Linked DNA regions of Homo sapiens: all the other regions are linked to region 3. Evidence: promoter capture Hi-C in 16 types of primary human blood cells and fetal thymus (Javierre and others, 2016). All regions are on one chromosome and are shown on one strand. Each heading gives the region's core, a stretch centred on a gene start or on the middle of the fragment in contact. The rest is flanking DNA. Distances are from core to core; before and after follow the strand shown. Region 1 overlaps CASP7 (caspase 7). Region 2 overlaps CASP7 (caspase 7). Region 3 holds the start of VWA2 (von Willebrand factor A domain containing 2). Region 4 has its middle 28 kb from the start of FHIP2A.

Region 1 (2,700 bases), core at 97-2,596, 530 kb before region 3:
TATTCCTCTCTAGCTTTGTAATTTTGGACAAGCTGATTTCATCCCTCTCTGTGAAATGGAACTAATACCTCACAGAACTCTTGAAGATTAAATGAGATAATATATGTAAAGTGGTAAATGATCAAAAAATGATGTTTATTATAACTGTATTTATTATTGTTGTTATTGCTGACACAGTGGAGTAAGAAGTTTAAAAGGCTAGGCAGAGGGATAAAGTCACAGTGAAAAATAGAAAAACGGGGTGTCTAGGGAGCCCCCTCAATTAGCACAAAAAAGTATGAATCCAGTGATCTTCAAAATAAGCCAGATCTTGAAATCCGTTTGTAGCAAGCAAGAGACTTTTAACTGTTAAATGGCAATTATTAGTTTAGTGTTTTAAATAACTTATTTGCATATAATAAAAAGTTACACAGAGTTCTTCCACTCTTGCCTACTGTCTGCTCCCAGCTCCCTGTAACACAGATAACCACGCTGAAAGATAGACATAATAATGAACCGGCGTCAGTGTCGGGAGTAAATACCCAAGATTCATTGTCTCACGGCCACGGAAAACTAAGACACAGACACACAAATACTGAGGTTCAGAGTGGAAGTTTAATAAGCAAAAGAAAGAGAAGAGCTCTCTCTACTGCAGAGAGAGGGGTCCAAGAGAAATGGATTGCTGGTTCCGCAGTGGAATGCAAGGCGTTTCATAGATGAGCTTGAGGAGGCAGTGGCTGATTTACATAGGATGCAAAAGATTGGTTGAACCAGGTGTGTCATTTGCATAGGGCACCAAAAACTGTTTAGGGCTAGGTGTGTCATTTGCGTAGGGCATGAAAAAGCTGGCCACCCCACACTCATCTTTTATTATGCAGCTGGTTCTCCACCTGGCCAGCGCCATGTTACCTGTTTCCTTACTGTACATGTGGTGGCAAAGAAAAGGGAAGAGTGGAGCCTCCATGTTAAACATACCTGGCCCTTACGTAGCCCTTTTCTACTGGCATAGCTGCCGGTGTTCACCCGTGCAAGCTTCCAGCTTGCTTATCTATGTCTGCAGCTTGATTTTTCAGACTGCTCTTTGTTAAAAAAAAAGAAATTATTTGGGGCCTGCTTTTTGTTAAAAGGGAAATTCTGTGGAGGACTCTTATACCCTTACTATCTGCCTAAATAATTTCTATCTCCTGTATCAATAACAGTAATAATCATGATGTTTATTTACCACTTACAACAGGACACACACTGTTCTAAATGCTTTGTGAAGATTAACTTGTTTACAGGCTCTGAGCAAATGCTGTTATTTTGTCCTTTTAACAAATGAGGAAGCACAAGCACAGAGAGGTTAAGTAATTTGCCCACAGTCACACAGCTATGCAGTAGAATAGGGAGTCAAATCCACACAGCCCAGCCCCTGAATCCATGGATTTATCTACTGCACCATCCTTCAAGTGTCTCTTTATGCAGATACGAGCAAATCTAAACATATTTTCTTTTCTTCTTTTTTTTTTCCAAAAGGTAGCACACTGCTGCCATTGTTCTGCAATTTGGTTTTGTTCTGCACTTAACACGACTTATTGGAGATTGTCCCACATCAGAACATAAAGAGGTTCCTCATTCTTGTTTACTGTACTGTGTGATTTTGATTAAAGAACCCTCCCTTTATGATCCAACCTGGTTATTATGGGAGCGAGTGACTAATTGAATAAGCTTATGTCTGCCAGATAGCTCTTGTAATTGAAGTGTGCTATGAAGGTTCAACACTGGAAATGGGAGAGTCAGGGGAAATGAGGGAAGAAAACTTATTACTCCAAAAATGTTTCCAGGTAGTATTAGGTCTCCCACCTGAAAGAAATACTCAAGCAAGAGTTGTCCTGCGTTCGGGCTGCCCTAAATTAACTCCCTCTCAGAAATCTGTTCTCTTCCTATATGTGAGCTTTGAGCCTAATGAGGCTGTACCTAATGAGTGTCTCTGCAGCAGCCTTGCAACAAGAATTGGCAAAATGGAAGTGCGGGTACCAGTGTGCCTGCCCCTCCCTCACCTGCCCCTGACATGTCCTGCTGGTCACCAGGCAGGACGGCAGCTCCATTTAGCTGATCACCTAAACAGAGGTGGCCCAGGGCCTCTGACTGTGGTGTTTCTTCAGCACGAAACGCTCTTCACTCATTCACAAAACACTGTTGAGCACCTGCTATGTGTCTGGCACTGTTGTAGAAGCTGGGGGAACTGCAGTGAAGTAGTCCAGGTCCTGCCCTCATAGAGTTTACACTCTAGCAGGAGACAACATAGCTCTGTAATTTGAGGTCAGGTGATGAATTTAAAAATTAAAGCAGGGGCCGGCGTGGTGGCTTACACCTGTAATCCCAGCACCTCGGGAGGCCGAGGTGGGCAGATTACCTGAGGTCAGGAGTTCGAGACCAACCTAGCCAACATGATGAAACCCCATCTCTACTAACAAAATACAAAAAAAATTGCCCGGTTATGGTGGCGTGCACGTGTAATCCCAGCTACTCCTGAGGCTGAGGCAGGAGTGGGAAGGAAAAAGTGGATATAATAGGGGTAGTAACTCATGTAGGCCCTGTGGGCTGTGGTCAGGACCCTGGAGTTCCTTCCCAGCATATGGGAAAACCACTGGATGGCTCTGGGCAAGGAACTAATCTGACTGGATTTATATATTTTTTTTTTTTTAAATACAGGGTCTCCGTTGCCGAGGCTGGAATGCA
Region 2 (2,700 bases), core at 128-2,627, 550 kb before region 3:
CTCCATCTTCATTTCTCTTTCTTTCTTTCTTTCTTTCTTTCTTTCTTTCTTTCTTTCCTTTCTTTCTTTTCTTTCTTTCTTTCTTTCTTTCTTTCTTTCTTTCTTTCTTTCCTTTCTTTCTTTCTTTCCTTCCTTCTTTCCTTCCTTCCTTCCTTCCTTCCTTCCTTCCTTCCTTCCTTCCTTCCTTTCTTTCTTTCTTTTCTTTCTTTTTGAGACAGAGTCCCGCTCTGTCACCCAGGCTGGAGTGCAGTGGCGCGATCTTGGCTCACTGCAACCTCCACCTCCCGGGTTCAAGCGATTCTCCTGCCTCAGCCTCCTGAGCTGGGACTACAGCCGTGTGCCACCATGCCTAGCTAATTTTTGTATTTTTAGTAGAGACAGGGTTTCACCATGTTGGCCAGGATGGTCTCAATCTCTTGACCTATGATCCACCCGCCTCAGCCTCCCAAAGTGCTGGGATTACGGGTGTGAGCCACTGTGCCTGGCCCTCCATCTTCATTTCTGATTTAGCTTATTTGAATGTTCTCTCTTCTTTTATTGGTAAATCTAGCTAATGGTCCCCTGAGTTTATCTTTTCAAGGAAGCAACTTTTTGTTTCATTGATCTTTTGCATTTTTTGTTTCAATTTCATTTATTCTGCCTTGATCTTTGTTATTTTCTTCTGCTAGCTTTGGGTTTGGTTTGTTCTTGCTTCTCTAGTTCCAGGAGGTGTGACTTTAGGTTGTCAATTTGTCATCTTTCAGACTTTTTGATGTAGATATTTAGCACCACAAACTTTCCTCTTAGCACTGCTTCTGTTGTATCCCAGAGGTTTTGATAATGTGTGTCACTGTTATCATTCGTTTTGAAGAATTTTCAAATTTCTATCTTGATTTCATTGTTAACCCAAAAATCAGTCAGGAGCAGACTGTTTAATTTCCTTGTTTTTATATAGTTTTGAGGGTTTCTTTTGGAGTCGATTTCTAGTTTGATTCTGGTGTAGTCTGAGAAGATACTTGATATGATTTTCATTTTTAAAAATTAATTGAGACTTATTTTGTGGCCTATCACATGGTCTGTCTTAGAGAATGTTCCATATGCTGATGAGAAGAATGTATATTCTGCAGTTCTTGGGTAGAATGTTCTATAATTATCCGTTAGGTCCATTTGTTCTGGAGTGTAGTTTAAATTCAGTGTTTCTGTGTTGACTTTCTGCCTCAGTGATCTGTCTAGTGCTGTCAGTGGAGTATTGAAGTTCTCCAATATCATTATGTTGCTGTCTATCTCTTGTCTTAGGTCTAGTGGTAATTGTTTTATGAATCTAGGAGCTTCAGAGTTATGTGCATATATATTTAGGGTTATAATATCTTCCTGTTGGGTCAATCCTTTTATCATACTTTCTTTGTCTTTTTGTTTGTAAACTGTTTTTCTTTAAAGTTTGTTTTATCTGATATAAGAGTAGCAACTTCTGCTTGCTTTCGGTTTCTATTTGTGTGGAGTATCTTTTTCCACCCCTTTACCTTGATTCTATAAGAATCCTTTGTATTAATTAGCTCAGCTTCTTGAAGACAGCAGACATTTGGTTTGTGATTTTTTTTTTAATCCATTCTGCCAATCTGTATCTTTTAAGTGGAGCATTAGGCCATGTACATTCAACATTAATATTGAGGTGTGACCCAATCATCATGTTGATTGTTACCTGGATACTTTGTTTTTTTTATTGTGTTATTGTTTTATAAGCCCTGTGAGTTTTGTGTTTTTGAGAGGTTCTATTCTGTTGCATATTGACCTTTTATTTCAGCGTTTAGAATTCCTTTTAGCATTTCTTGTCGGGCTGATCTGGTAGTGGCAAATTCCTTCAGCATGTGCTTGTCTGAGAAAGACTATATCCCCTTCATTTATGAAACTTAGTTTTGCTGTATACAACGTTTTTGGCTGAGAGTTATTCTGTTTAAGGAGGCTAAAAATAGGGCCCCAATCCTTTCTGGCTTATAAGGTTTCTGCTGAGAAGTCTACTGTTAGTCTGATAGCTTTTCCTTTGCAGGTTATCTGATACTTCTGTCTTACTGCTCTTAGAATTCTTTCCTTCATGTTGACATTAGTAATAGCCTGTTGACTGTATGCCTTGGAGATGTCCATTTTGCCATGAATCTCCCCGAAGGGCTTTGACCTTCTTGTATTTGGATGTCTAAATCTCTGGCAAGGCTAGGGAAGTCTTCCTCAATTATTCCCTCAAATAAATTTTCCAAAATTTTTACTTTTTCTTCTCCCTCAGGAACACCAGTGATTCTTAGCTTTGGCCATTTTACATAATCTCATATTTCTTAGAGACTTTGTTCATTTCTTTTAGTTATTTTTTCTTTATTTTTGTCTGACTGGGTTTATTCAAAAGCCTTGTCTTCGAGCTCTGAAATTCTTTATTCTACTTGGTCTAGTCTGTTGTTAAAACTTTCCACTTGTTTTGTAACTCCCTAAATGTGTCTTTCATTTCTAGAAGTTCTGATTGTTTTTTTTTCCTCTAAAGTATCTATCTCTTTAGAAAAATTTTCATTCATATCCTGAATTTTTAAAAAACTTTCTTTATATTGGTTTTCACCTTTTTCTTGTATCTCCTTGGGTAACTTAATAATCAACCATTTGGATTCTTTATTTGGTATTTCCAAGATTTCATCTTAGTTTGGATCCATTGCTGGAAAGCTAATGTGATCTTTTGGGGGTGTT
Region 3 (2,700 bases), core at 156-2,655:
AGGAGAACCATTTGAACCTGGGAGGCAGAGGTTGCAGTGAGCCAAGATCATGCCATTGCACTCCAGCCTGGGCAACAGAGTGAGACTCTGTCTCAAACAAAAAAAAAAAAAAAAAAAACAAAAAAACAGGACTTTGAAGACAGCATAAAACATCTTTATTGATTACATGTTGAGATAATGTTCCGGATGTTTAGGTTAATACTGAAATCCAGCTTGCTGTTTCTTTTCACTTTTTATTAAATGTGACCACTAGAACATTTAAAATTACACACGTGGCTTGGTCAGTATTTCTCTGGGGCAATGCTGATCTAGAGGCAGAGACCATCCCTCCCCAGCAGTTAGACCTCAAGACTAACTGCTGTCCCCTGTGGGGATGATGTGGTGGTACATTATGTCTGCTGCTCTGGTGTGGCCCTGTTTTTATTTTTGGGTGCTCAGTAAATGTTACTGGGAGAAATGAATTACAGGAAAAATGAGTCCTTTCCTAGCCTCCTTCAATGAGGTTTGCAACATTAAAGTCACCACGGGCCACTTTCACTGGAAGCTGTCAGTGTCGGAGGTTTGGAAATTAACTGAGAACTACAGACAGGAAAGGTGTAAAGCAAATTATTTTCCTATCAGATTGACATTTACAAGAATAATGGGAAGGAGCATGGAAAAGAGGAAGCAGGTCAACCTTCCTTGAGGACAATTAGATAATAGGCATCAAAAGTCTTAAGTTGTATAAAACCTGTATCCTAGAAATTTACCTTTTCGTAGTTTATTCTAAGGAATTAATTGGACAAAAGCACAAAGACATCTAATTGTATTATTAAAATGGAAAGTTTAATATTCAACAATAGCAGATAGGTTAAGTACATTAGGACATTATGAAGTGGCTTAAAACGGACATTCAAAAAAAGGAAATGGAAAACCTGAGTAATGTACAGCTTGTATGGAATGAACTAAAAATATATAAATTTTTGCATAGGTAGAATGACATTGGAAGAACATACACCACAATGTTAACTGATTATCTCTGGGTGTTGGAAAATGATTGATTTATCAACTTTTTTACTGTTATTTCTTTTCTTTTTTTTTTTTTTGCAATGAACAGGCATGCTCTGGCAGTTTTTAAATGAAGTATGGAAATTATGGATTGTGCAGTCATAGTCAACGTTCATTGAGAGCTTACTTTATATAAAGCATCATGCTCAGCATTGTGCTTTGTGGCATTTGATTTTTTAAAAATCAAACGCCCTCCAATCTTAAGCAAGGATGATGGCCAAAAGGTCGGCTTATTACCCAACTGCAACAATAGGAGGGACAGGTAATTAAAAGGCAATTGCCATGACAAATAGAAAAGATGCCAAAGTCAACATTTTTTCAAGGAGCTATAAAGCCCGTGGAGGAGTCAGCTGACGGCACAGTGTTCGCGGCTGCACCGCTCGGAGGCTGGGTGACCCGCGTAGAAGTGAAGTACTTTTTTATTTGCAGACCTGGGCCGATGCCGCTTTAAAAAACGCGAGGGGCTCTATGCACCTCCCTGGCGGTAGTTCCTCCGACCTCAGCCGGGTCGGGTCGTGCCGCCCTCTCCCAGGAGAGACAAACAGGTGTCCCACGTGGCAGCCGCGCCCCGGGCGCCCCTCCTGTGATCCCGTAGCGCCCCCTGGCCCGAGCCGCGCCCGGGTCTGTGAGTAGAGCCGCCCGGGCACCGAGCGCTGGTCGCCGCTCTCCTTCCGGTGAGTCCCAGCCCCGAGTTGGCTCTGGCGCCCGGGTACCCGCCAGTGCCGGCTGCCGATGACCGATTCACGCTCCCGGTACTGGGGCCCCCTCTGCCCAGCCACCCCTACCCAGAGCACCCGGGCTGCGCGGCCCCGCCGAGGGTGCGGGCTTTGTTCGCATTGTCTGCGCGCACCTGAGCGCGGCCTTCCTGGCACGGCGGCGTCGGGGGAAGAGCGCACCTGGCGCGCGCCTCCCTCGTGGCCACTCGCGGTCCGTCCCGGGCGAGCTGGCGGGGTTTTGGGAGGGGTGCGGTCAGCAGGTAAGTGGGTAGGGGCTCCGGGTACAGGGGTGGAGGAGGGCATGTATTAAACCCAAGCTGCCCTCCTGGCACAGTAGCGGGGCCCCCTTCCCTGGCGGCCGCGGAAAGGGACTCGCCCTTTGAATAAAGGCTTTGGTGACATGCTCGCTTCCACCCCACACCCCACTACAGGACATACACAGGTGTTAAGGGGACTTGGGGCAGTTTTCCCAGGCAGAACGAGTGCCCCCAGCGAAGTGTCTGCAAGCAGAACCTGAGAGGGGCCGGCTGCCCCGAGAGTCCTCGCGCTTGGGCAGTGGGAAGTCCAGGGGTTTGTCGTTCTGGTGACTTCCCCCACCTGGCTCAGCCCTGCTTCCTGCATGTCTCCTTCCCTTCCAATAAGGCTAACAAAACTTTCCCTAGCTAAGCCGACCTTTCCCTCCCGCCTTGGGCCCTTGGCCACCTGCTGGGACGGTGAATGGGAGAGTCTCAGAATTGAACCTTGAAAACTTGCTGGGGGCACCAGACAGAAGAGAAGGGAGGAGGGCACCTTGCTGCTTGTGATTGTGGAATCAAGGGCTCCAGCTGAAGCTGAAAGGGGACTTAGCAATGGGGACCTCATGCCATGTGTTTGATGTCTTGGAGATTGGAATAATTAGAACGTGTACATTTTTCAAATTACAAGCTGCTTTAAGTAA
Region 4 (2,700 bases), core at 183-2,682, 550 kb after region 3:
CAGACTGGGCAACAAGGTGGGACCTCATCTCTACAAAAAAGACAAAAATCAGCTGGGTGTGGTGGCACATGCCTGTAGTCCCAACTATTTAGGAGGCTGAGGTGGGAGGATGGCTTGAGCCTGGGAGGGAGAGGTTGCAGTGAGCCAAGATCACACCACTGCATTCTAGCCTGGGTGACAGAGCCAGACCCTGTCACACACAAAAAAGAATCTTGCCCAAGGACACAGAGTGAATGGTGGACACAGGTTTTGAATTGGTCACAAAGTCAGTATTCTTATAAGCTTTATTTCCTTCTTGATTATTTAGTAGGCCCACTTAGCAAGATACTGATACATCAGATAACTTTCATTTAATAGATATCAAGAATAAAGAAGTAGAATAAGGAACAGAGAATTTATCCTTTCAGACAACTTTTTCCTTTGGCTTCCTGGACACCACTGCTTTGTGGTTCCCCTACCTCCTGCTGGCTGCTCCTTCTTCTTTCTGTGGGATTCTCCTCTTCTCCTTCTCAGGTCTTGATCCTCTTCTTCCCTCCATCCATGAGGCTCCTTGGGTAAACCAATCCAATCCCATGACTGTTAATACTGTTCATATGTTGATGATTTTCAAATTTATATTTCCAGCTTGGACCTTTCCCTTGAACCCAGATTCTATATTCAGCTGCTTTATCAATGTCTCTATGTGGAGATCTGATATAATTTGGATCTGTGTCACCACCCAAATCTCATGTTGAAATGTAATCCCCAGCTGGGTGCAGTGGCTCATGCCTGTAATCCCAGCACTTTGGGAGGCAGAAGTGGGAAGATCACCTGAGGTCTGGAGTTCGAGACAAGCCTAGCCAACATGGTGAAATCCCATCTCTACTGAAAATACAAAAATTAGCCAGGAATGGTGGCACATGCCTGTAATCCCAGCTACTCAGGAGGCTGAGGTATGAGAATCACTTGAACCTGGGAGGCAGAGGTTGCAGTAAGCCGAGATCGCGCCTCTGCCCTCCAGCCTGGGCGACAGAGTGAGACACCATCTCAAAAAAAATAAAAAGAAAAAAAGAAATGCAATCCCCAATGTTGGAGGTGGGGCCTGGTGGGAGGTAACTGGATCAGGAGGGCAGATTTCTCATGAATGGTTTAGCACCATCCTCTTGGTGCTGTCCTTGTGATAGTGAGTGAATCCTCATGAGATCTGGTTGTCTGAAAGTGCGTGGCACCTTCCCTCACTCTCTTGCCTTGGCCATGTGACGTGCCTGCTCCCCCTTTGCCTTCCACCATGACTGTAAGTTTCCTGAGGCCTCCCCACAACCAAGCAGATGCCAGCACCATGCTTCCTGTACAGCCTGCAGAACCATGAGCCAATTAAACCTCTTTTCTTTATAAATTACCCAGCCTCAGGTATTTATAAAAGCAGTGCAGCTTTATGCTGCACTTTATGCTGATAGTGCAGCATAATTGACAGTGGCCCCAGCTCCTGCACCTGAAATCTTGATCCCTGTGTTCTTGCTGAGGCTGGGTGTCCCAAAGGCTACTCCCAGCTAATGACTTGAGTGTGGCAGGAACACAGGAGCAGGCCCATTACTGGGAGATGGGAGACTCCTCTGATGGGTAGTTTGGGCTCAAGGACTCCCTACTGGCCTTGCCAAACTTTCACAGAGCTGTACTGTAGTCTCCAAGTCTCCCGTCCATCCTTTTGCCCTCCCTCTGTCTATTACCAGGGTCAGACCTGCATTGCAGTCTGAAAGCTCTCAAACCCTATTCTGGCACCCTCTCCATCTCCCCTCACAGGTGTTCCTCTTAATAAATCTCTTGCACATCTTCTAGTTAGTTGGACTGCTTCTGCAGTTACAGTCCTGTAGTCTCTTCACGCAGCAGCCAGAAGTGATCAAGCTAAAACCAAATTCCTTTCCATCTCCTGTAGGCACCATGCAGTCTGGCCGCTGCTTCTCCATGGATCCCATCTCCTCTTGGACTCTGCTGTGGCTACACAAGTCTCCTGGATGTGTCTGGACCTACTAGGTTTGGTTAACTTGCCTTTGCACTAGTCTTCCTCTCCGGAATATTTCTGTCCCAGATACATACATAGCTTGACCCCTCTACTTATTCGTGTTCGCTATCCTCTTACCCTGCTTCATTTTCTCTTCACTACATTTAGTCACCATTTGATATATTATATCTCTTTTGTTTATTGATTCTCATCCCCAATTACAATGCAAGTGCCATGAAAACATAGACTTCGTATGTCTTATTTATTCCCATATGCCCAACAACCAAAAAATGTACCTGGCACATAATAAGTACTCAGTAAGTTTTGCTGAATGAATGAATGAATTTTTACTAAGAACCATTTATAGGTTCATTTAAAAAATCAAAGGAATTTACAAATGTAAGTTTGATTATGAACATCTGAGGTTTCTGAAAAATGAGATACAACTAGAAAAATGAGTAACATCAGTAATTGAGGATACATATTTGTGTTTTTTGGGGTTTCTTGATGCTGATGTTTTTTAATGCTGAAATTTTGTAAAATAAAATTCAAACTACATACTAATCACTAACCTTTTTAATATAAAATAGTACTTTATCTAAAGCAAGCTTGACCCACAGTTAATTAGCTGGATCATAGCCAGGAAAGTGCTAAAATGTCAAGGAAGTGAAAATTGTCTTTCTTTGACTCTCAGGAGTACAAGTAAAACCAGGGAATAGCTG

The links. The method cuts DNA at HindIII sites, captures the fragments that hold promoters and counts their contacts. A CHiCAGO score of 5 or more calls a contact.
Region 1: a fragment that was not itself captured here is called in contact with the fragment with the promoter of VWA2 in region 3 in 1 of 17 cell types (fetal thymus); the score reaches 6.2 in fetal thymus.
Region 2: a contact is called between a fragment that was not itself captured here and the fragment with the promoter of VWA2 in region 3, in 1 of 17 cell types (megakaryocytes). The highest score is 5.4, in megakaryocytes.
Region 4: a contact is called between a fragment that was not itself captured here and the fragment with the promoter of VWA2 in region 3, in 5 of 17 cell types (total B cells, non-activated CD4 T cells, total CD8 T cells and 2 more). The highest score is 6.5, in total B cells.

The regions. Positions count from the first base shown.
Region 1 is chr10:113,712,152-113,714,851 of GRCh38, forward strand. The region is part of intron 2 of CASP7 (caspase 7); the gene reads left to right. Among named protein-coding and RNA genes, the nearest start is that of CASP7, 34 kb to the left of the region's middle. The HindIII fragment of the contact is 675 bases long and covers 1,010-1,684 here.
Region 2 is chr10:113,687,780-113,690,479 of GRCh38, forward strand. All of the region lies in intron 1 of CASP7 (caspase 7), which reads left to right. Among named protein-coding and RNA genes, the nearest start is that of CASP7, 9.2 kb to the left of the region's middle. The HindIII fragment of the contact is 4,707 bases long and covers 1-2,700 here.
Region 3 is chr10:114,237,849-114,240,548 of GRCh38, forward strand. It overlaps VWA2 (von Willebrand factor A domain containing 2), which reads left to right and starts at 1,406. Exons shown (of 14, transcript NM_001272046.2): 1 at 1,406-1,721. RefSeq lists an enhancer at 1,317-2,025. The HindIII fragment of the contact is 4,541 bases long and covers 1-2,700 here.
Region 4 is chr10:114,792,124-114,794,823 of GRCh38, forward strand. It overlaps a transcript of ABLIM1 not described here. Among named protein-coding and RNA genes, the nearest start is that of FHIP2A, 28 kb to the right of the region's middle. The HindIII fragment of the contact is 2,304 bases long and covers 281-2,584 here.